Regions from separate parts of the Homo sapiens genome. Here all the other regions are linked to region 2. Evidence: promoter capture Hi-C in 16 types of primary human blood cells and fetal thymus (Javierre and others, 2016). All regions are on one chromosome and are shown on one strand. The core of a region is centred on a gene start or on the middle of the fragment in contact, and the rest is flanking DNA. Distances in the headings are between cores, read along the strand shown. Region 1 overlaps PHKA1 (phosphorylase kinase regulatory subunit alpha 1). Region 2 holds the start of CITED1 (Cbp/p300 interacting transactivator with Glu/Asp rich carboxy-terminal domain 1). Region 3 overlaps NHSL2 (NHS like 2).

Region 1 (2,731 bases), core at 146-2,645, 270 kb after region 2:
GCTCACGCTAAGTGCCTATATAACAATGGCATTTGGTATGTGCTCAAATATTGGTTATTTAAGAGCCATTATGCCAAATATTTCTATATTTGGTGGGGAAGGGAGTTTCCCCCTACTGTCATCCTTACCCCCATACCACTACTGCACAAGTACTACTAGTGGTTTGAGAATAAGTTCTTGGTTTTTTGGCTTAGCCTTAAAAGAAATCACACATCTGCTAAATATAGGGTGACCATATCTTTCAAACTGAGACATTTTTTGAGAGTGACACAGTGCTATTGATAATTATGCCAGTAAAACAGGCATAAATGGGGGCTGCCCTGGACAAACCAACACCTGAGGTTACTCAAGTTAAAAAGGAAATGAATGTCTACCAAATATAAGAATAAAAATTGATGGCTGTATTTTTTTAAAATTAAATAAATAAAAAGGAAATGAAGACTACATGTGGAAAATAATCTCCACTGCATTAGTGCAGACACTAGGTACTTGGTAAGTAGAAAAAGGAATGGCAGAGGTTTTGCCAGCTGTGGTGAAGAACAACTTTTGCCCCACCAGTTGTGTAAGATTCCCAGAATGTAGTAAAATTTCATTAACCAGGATGGAACTGTAGAGACAATGTTCATCCTTGCTGGATAAATCCTGTTATAGAAAAGGCTAATGAATAGTATAAACAAACAAGATTCTGCCAAATATTTTTAATATTTAGAAAAACAAGTTGTTTTAAAATACCCTTCATTAGGGAAGAAGCACCATTTGTACACAATTGAAAGGCTGAGTAAAAATGTTTTACTCATTCATCAGAAAATGTTCCCTACAGGCCAGGCGCGGTGGCTCACGAGTGTAATCCCAGCACTTTGGGAGGCTGAGGCAGGCGGATCACCTGAGATCAGGAGTTTGAGACCAGACTGGCCAACATGGTGAAACCCCGTCTCTACTAGAAATACAAAAAAAATTAGCTGGGTGTGGTGGCGCATGCCTGTAATCCCAGCTACTCGGGAGGCTGAGACAGGAGAATCGCTTGAATCCGGGAGGCAGCGGTTGCAGTGAGCCGAGATCACCCCACTGCACTCCAGCCTGGGCGATAGAGCAAGACTCCGTCTTAAAAAAAAAAAAAAAGAAAAGAAAAGAAAAGAAAAGAAAAGAAAAGAAAAGAAAAGAAAAGAAAAGAAAAGAAAAGAAAATGTTCCCTACAGATGTCAATAAGCCCGCTTGAATTTAGTAAGCCTTGTTTGAGTGGGTATGTATTTGAATGATTAAACTGCATTTCTTTACATATATTATCTAACATATTATGAAATGTATAATATATTATATATGTATTAATATATTAATATTATTCTACTTCAACCCAATGAATGAGCTTTGACTGTACTGTATAATTAAGCAGAGTATGTAGAATAAAGCCATGAAATAAACTCCAATCACAAAAACACATGTGAAGTTTTGCACATTGGCACCAGACATGATTTAATTGGAAATTCTTATTATTTATTCTATTTTCAAAACATAAGTGCTTTTTTAAAAAAAGTCTAACATGTCTTTTTAGTACCACACACTTAAAATGAACAAAAAACAAGTCGAGTTTTCTTAAAAGTTGCTTTAAAAGTTAAATACCACTGTATGGGGACCATAATGACACAATTTCGTAAACTCAGAGAAATGCAGCCCTTCGAGTAAGTTCAGGCAAATGAGTGTGGGAAGGAGTGGATCTTTTGCCTGTGGCACTACAGATATACTCCCTGAGATTGGGGTACACTTACAACCAGTGAAAAGACAAATAGTTTCAGAACAGGTTGTAAACTTTCTTTAAAAGTGACCAGAAAATAATGTAGTCAGAAAGCTACTTACTGTGTGTTTCCATTTGCTCTGAGAGAAGTGCTGAAAAGGTTTGCTGTCCTCTCTTTGTTTCTACTATCTGTATTCTATCACCCTACTATATGCTTACTTATTCATTATATTCATAAGATTGTCACTGGTTCTGCAAGAATTGTTCAGAGAGTCTCTCATCCCCACCCTCACCATTCCCAATATTGGGGAAAAACTTTAGAAATCCAAGATAAAGGAGGGGGTTGAAGTAGGAAGTTATCTAAGTGCAAAAAGGGAAGTTAACAGAGTCTCTGCACAATTCAGAAGAAGGAGAGTTAGAAGAAACATTTGTCAAGCAAGGCTACCTACATATGGGATGAAGGAAGAGGACTGAAGCTATTCTTCCACCAATCTGTGTGTGTCAATCTGAGTCCACAGTCACATCCCTTCTCTCACATGCAACATTCTTACTCAGTCCATCAAATGTAGATACAGATTGATATACAGACACATCAAAACTGCTTACATTCAGAAAAATTCCCATGTATGCTTATACACACACACACACACACACACACATACACACACAAATATGTGTCTTTATAAGAAACAGACATATGCCCACAGATACCATGATATACAGGGATATGTACACTAGAATTAGGAAGTGAAAATATATATGAAAGAGTTTAAGAATAGATGGGGGGATAGGGTGTCAGGGAGTTGAGTTGGATGTAGTAGAAAGTAGGTGAGTGAGACAGAGACCAGGAGCACATGAAAAGAATGCTAAGTAGAGCACCTATAGACTGGACTGCTGTATTTATCTTTGCTGAATACAGACGCTTCAAATTATTGTCTGTGTTGTGTATTGGCCCATTTTTCAAAGGCAGGGATTAAGCGCATAAGGCTGTCTTCAGGGAAC
Region 2 (2,700 bases), core at 161-2,660:
AATCAGTATCAGACAATTTTCCTGTCCTAAGAAAAATGTCTGGGGGCCCTGTCCATCTTTTCCTGTTCCTATCCAGCCTTCCCTCTCCTTTTTGCCGCTTGGTACCCGAATGTACAAAACGAAGAAAAAACAACAGGAGCAGCAGCAACAACAGCAAAACCAAAAGAGAAACATTAGAAAAATCAAAAGAGAGAACGAGCAAAAAAACTCTCTCTATTCTGATATCAGTTCGTGGGGGAAGACCATTTTACCGCGCCTCCCTCTTCAATCTGGGAGCTCCCCCAGAAGAGGCCCTGTGTCCATTCAGATCTTCTGCCTTCCATTACTGACCCACCACCCACCCTGACCCCAGCCTGGGTCTGCGCTCAATAGGCGCTCAGTAAGTGTTGTTGAATGCGTCTGAAGAAGCAATCGCATTTCCATCGGCATCCCTGGCTCTGCTTCCCCGGCTTTCTGCCCTCCTCCACCACCCTCTAGCCCGTTCGTGGGCAAAACTTGGCAACGCGGAAACGTCCCAGCCCGCTCTCCAAGCCGCGAGCTGACCACTGCGAAACGGCTGCGACAGGCGGCTGGGAAACCTAGAGCAACAAGTGCCTTCTCGCCGGCTGATGCCTGGCGGCCCCCCGGCCACCAGTTCCCAGTCCCGCTGCCCGCTCTTCGCTTCAGGCCTTCCCTTGGGCGAGCAGCCCCCTCCCGCCTAGACAGGGGTGGGAAGGGGAGAGGGAAAAGAGAAGGGAGAGGCAGGTGGGGGCCTCATCTTTAACCTGTTGGGGGACCAAAAGTTAAAATGGCACCAACCGGATGGTTCCATCTCGATTGCTATTTTCTCACTCAGAAGGAGAAATTTAAAAATCCAAACAGCACTGCGGCTTGGCTTGGACGCGCTCTAACCAGACCAGTCAGTTTCGCCACCTGAAAACTAAAGGCCCGTTGTTTGCGGACAGCTCGGCTGCCCTCCTCGCCGCATCCCAGATGGAGCCGCGGAACCGGGGGCGGCCGGGAGCATCCCTTGCACGGCGGGCGCGTGCACCCAGGCCACCGGGGCCCTGAGCGTCCGTTCCCGCAAGTGCTGTATCAGGAACTGATCTTAGAGACAGGATGGACAGGCAGGAAGGGGCACGGGGTGTCGGCCTCCGCGGCGAGTCCGCACTCCGGCGCCGGCTGCTGCCACTCTCGCGCCTGATCAACACTTACTGAGCGCCCGCTGAGCATCCGACGCGGCAGCAGGCTGAGCCTACCCCCTAGCCAAGCCGCCTGCGGTCAGTGCTAAAACCCCGCTAGGAGAAGAGTGAGAGAGGCTCGGAGAGGTGCGGTAACTTGCCCAAGGTCACAGCGCTAGAAAGTGGCGGAGCCGGGATTCGCAGCCAGGTCTCTCTGACTCCAAGTCCGGTGCTCTGCGAAGCAGGGACTCGGCGCGCGGCTCGCCAGCCCGCGTTTATAGGGAGAGGGGTGTGCGCGTGGGTGTGTGTGTGTGGGCGTGTGTCGGGGGAGGGGAGGGCTGAGGTCGACTGGGCAGTAGAGGCAAGTTGCCCAAATTCGCTAACTTCCATCCCGCAATTCCGCTGAACTCGGCCCGAAAAGCCCCCTCTTGCCTCAATTCCCCGAAGTAAATCTGAGCTTTGTGCAGCTCCGGAGCCAGAGCGTCCAGATGCGGTCCGGGAGATTAGCAAAGTCGGTGGAAGCCAAGCTGGAGAAAGCGCGGGCGCAGGGAGAAAAGGTGCTGCCGTCTCCCCGGGAGAAGCGGGCACCCGGCCCCGCTGGCCGGCAGGGGGGCGCGCTGGCAAGCGAACCCGAGCGCTGGCGGGCGGGCGGGCGGGCGGCCCCTCGCCCCCAGCAGAGCAGCTTTCCAACAGAAAGCAAGTCTCCCCAGAACCCTCCGGCCCGCCTGGCGGCCGCCCACTCCCCATACCCGCTCCACGGGAGTCCTCGGCCCCGCCGCCCAGCCCGGCGCCCAGCCCGGCGGCCCGGCTTACCTCTGAGAAGCCGCCTGCCCTGGAGAGAGGGAAGCGCGGAGCTCGGTGAGCCGCAAGAGAGGCGGCGGAGCCCCCAGCCCCTGGCACGCACGCCGCCGCCACCGCTACCGCGAACCGGTCGCGCTCAGCGCCCGCGGCCGCGCCGTTGGCCACCCGACCCCGGGGCGCCTGGGAAAAGCCCGCACCGCGCCGCGCCGCCGCTGCACCGCACAGTGCCGCGCCAAGCAGCCCCTGACCGAGCTGGTGCCCGCCCGCCCGCCCGCAGCTTCGGCGCCGGACTCCGGGGCGGTGGCGGTGGCGGCCACCGCGCTCCCTTCCCGGCGCTGGGGACCCGGCTCTCAAGCCCCCATTGCCGCCCGGAGAGCCCTGACGCACACGCACACGGCAGCAGACTGGCCTCGGCTAGGAATCCCAGGAAGGACAGACCCTTTTTTTCCCTTTTTTTTTCTCCCCTCAATTTCCACGTCTTTATAACCGGCTTAGGGCATTATTAGCACATGTCCTGGCTCGTGGGCGAGTTGGTGGCAAAATCTGAACTGGATACTCACGGAGGGCCCGCGCGGGTGCTGTGCCGTCCGCTGCTCTCTTCCTCCTCACCGAGAACTGCCCCTCGCCGGCGGACTACAAGAGGGCAGCCGGGCAGAGCGAGCTTCCTCTCGGCAGCTCAGCGGTGCCCCTTCTGCAGCTTTGCCGCCGGGCACATTTTTATAGCAGCGGCTGGCGTCTG
Region 3 (2,737 bases), core at 74-2,573, 290 kb before region 2:
GATACCTGAGTAGAAGTACAAAGTGATGTATGGATTTTAATTGCCCCACTTTTTGAAATCCGATCTATCACTAAGTCCTTCCCATTCCCAGATCTGTAATCTTTTTTTTTCCCCTCATTTTCCTGACTCTAATTTAGACCCTGCTGAGCCTGCTGGGGTCTCAGGTGCTACTCCTCCAATCTGTTTTCCTTTGGTGCAGCTTTCGAACTCACAGCTCTGATCACTGCCCTCTGCCCTATATAATCTAAAACATATTTACAGAATCAAGCCCAATGCTTACCTGACTTTCTTCTTAAATGCCATTTATAGCTTTTCTTTTCTTTCTAAAATGGTAAATGTTTATTATGGTGCTTGACTTTCAAGGACCTCTATGAGGTGGTCCAACCTACCCTTCCTTTGCTTGTGTGGGGGTGAGGACCTGGGAGGTTAGGGGGACCATGCAGCTTGATGCTATGGAAAGCACACCTCGAGCTCTGGAATCAGAGGTTACTGGTTAATCTAGGCCCTCCCCTGCTTCTTATCTGCTTGACCCCGGCCCTCGCCTCACCGTTCCCCCGCCCAGTTTCCCTCTTGTTAAGGTGGTGTGATAAAAACGACCCCTATCCCGGGTTAGAGGTGAAAACTCAACGCGACAAGTGGAGGAGAGCGGGCTTTTAGCGCCAGAAGCTTCCATGATGCCCAGGTCCGCGGGCAGGGCGAGGGCACGGGCCGGGGAAGCAAGCGTTGCCGCGCCGCTACCGTCGGGGGCCGGCCCCCGGGCTGCTTTTCGTGCGCGGAGCAGCTCGGCCAGTCACCAGGCGCGTGCGGAGGCGGCGAGCCTGCGAGGGCGGCCGGTGCGGGCGCAGCCGGCGCGATGAGTCACCATCCCTCAGCACCTCCGGAACACGAGGCTGCTTGGAAGCAGCCGGGCCCCCGCCCGCCCTCCTCCCCCGCCCCGCGGAGTGGCGGCGCCAGCCCGATGCCCGGCAGAGGGCGCTGCAGTGCGGCTGCGGGGCCACCGGCCCGCGCTGCTCTGGCTGCCAAAGGCCGGCGCTGCCTTTGGCTCAGAGGGAAAGATCGGGGCCCAGGGATGGGGTGCGTGAGGAATGAATGTTTCTGCAGTGCCAGAGGTGGCTCTGTTTTTGATCCAGAAACGAAATGGACTTCAAGATTCAGACACTGGGCAGAGTGATGGGGCCGACACGGCCCCTACTGGAGAGTGTCCAGTCTTGATCGCCCCAAGCTTTTGAGCAGGGATGTCCTGTCCGAGGCTGGTGTCGTCCCCACTCTCGCCAGAGAGGATCTGTGATAGGATGAGTCTCGCCTTTCCAAAATGAATCTGCCTAAGGACCCAGTCCTTGATCTCCTCTGTGACCTCTTTCACCTGAGGTGATGGAGGTTACGAAGATTGGAGCTGTCTGCAGTGGAGCGCAGGAGAAAGTGCACAAGCTTTCGGGTGACCAGGGTTTCAGTGCCAGCTCCATCATGAGATTGCTGTGTGACCTTGGTCATTTCATTATTCATTCATTCATTCAGAAAACACTCACTGTGTCACAAGGCACTCACGGTGAAGGGAAGAGAAGGAGGCCAAGCCTGTGGAGACAATTGCCCTGACCATAAAATAGCTTAGGCCAGGTACAGAAACCCGACACGTAGGTAAACACTGGCTGAATGAACAAATGCGATGATTTAGTCACCACACACTAGGGCAGAGATTTTTGGTCACTTATGCTCCCGAGTACATGGAACAGTGCCTGACACACAGTGGGTGCTCAGTAATTTGTCGAATGAATGACAGAGGAATGTACTGAGTGTTCTGTGAGCACAGCAGAGGCCACCTAACTCACAAGATTCTGTGCTGTTTGAACCGAGTCTTGAAGGAAGGGTTGGGATTAGTTAGGCAGACAAGGGCCAGATGGAGGGTGATACAGGCAGAGAACAGCCTGTGCAAAAGCTAGGAGTCCTCAGAGTTCTCACCTCTCTGAGCCTCAGTCCCTCCTGTGAGAAGGAAAGGATAGGGCTGGCTCTGTAATTTCTCAGATTTTTCTAGATCTAAGGTTCTCAGATTCAACAAATGAATCCAGTTACCCTAGTCAGAGCCTGACCAGTGCTGGGCAGTCCAAGAGACTCAGGTTTTGACTTTTGACTCAGCCCATCTGCAGAATAAAGGCCTGGTGATCTCAGGCACCCCTTCTCCATCTGCTTCCTCTGTCTTTCACCTTAGAAATCTCCCCTGAATCCTATCCCCATAGGATAAACTATCTGCAGCACAAAAGTCAGCACTTACTTGTATTCTGCCATGATTTTTCTTCGTGTTATTTTTTGAAATAGTCTTTATTTACAGATTTTTACACTAACACAGGCTAATTGTGAAAAAACAGGAAAGTACAAAGAAGAACATAAAAACTCTCCGTAATTTCACTACCTGGCATAGTTCCTTGATTTTTTTATGCCTTCATTAAAATACACACACACACACATACTTCAGCTCACACAGCAGCACTGACACAGATCGCTGTGAGTCTTGTGTTCCCAGCAAAAGCATGAGCTGGGGACAGTTCTCTCTTTCTCTCCATTAGTTTGTCTCTGATGGGAAGAGATGTTGGCTGGGACCCCAAAACTCTGACTCTTTAACCAGCTGCAGATCATCAGGCTAAATCCTCAAAGAACATACTGCTCAGAGGACGTTTCAGTCTGAGGCAGGGCTCTGGACGCAAACCACTATATGGCCTCTTCTTCCTTCCTGGAGTTGGGCTAG

What was found. Contacts are between HindIII fragments. The CHiCAGO score rates a contact against its expected background, and 5 or more counts as called.
Region 1: a fragment that was not itself captured here is called in contact with the fragment with the promoter of CITED1 in region 2 in 5 of 17 cell types (monocytes, megakaryocytes, M1 macrophages and 2 more); the score reaches 9.7 in monocytes.
Region 3: a contact is called between a fragment that was not itself captured here and the fragment with the promoter of CITED1 in region 2, in 1 of 17 cell types (total B cells). The highest score is 5.6, in total B cells.

What each region holds. Positions count from the first base shown.
Region 1 is chrX:72,577,375-72,580,105 of GRCh38, forward strand. It overlaps PHKA1 (phosphorylase kinase regulatory subunit alpha 1), which reads right to left. Exons shown (of 32, transcript NM_002637.4): 32 at 1,440-2,731. Among named protein-coding and RNA genes, the nearest start is that of HDAC8, 5.9 kb to the left of the region's middle. The HindIII fragment of the contact is 3,710 bases long and covers 1-2,731 here.
Region 2 is chrX:72,304,504-72,307,203 of GRCh38, forward strand. CITED1 (Cbp/p300 interacting transactivator with Glu/Asp rich carboxy-terminal domain 1) reads right to left here and starts at 1,411. Exons shown (of 3, transcript NM_001144887.2): 1 at 1,322-1,411. LOC105373250 (a long non-coding RNA gene) reads left to right here and starts at 1,599. Exons shown (of 3, transcript XR_938441.2): 1 at 1,599-1,717. RefSeq lists a silencer at 2,396-2,690 and an enhancer at 2,417-2,466. The HindIII fragment of the contact is 8,247 bases long and covers 1-2,700 here.
Region 3 is chrX:72,017,794-72,020,530 of GRCh38, forward strand. The region is part of intron 1 of NHSL2 (NHS like 2); the gene reads left to right. Among named protein-coding and RNA genes, the nearest start is that of NHSL2, 110 kb to the left of the region's middle. RefSeq lists a silencer at 687-1,066 and an enhancer at 1,047-1,096. The HindIII fragment of the contact is 206 bases long and covers 1,221-1,426 here.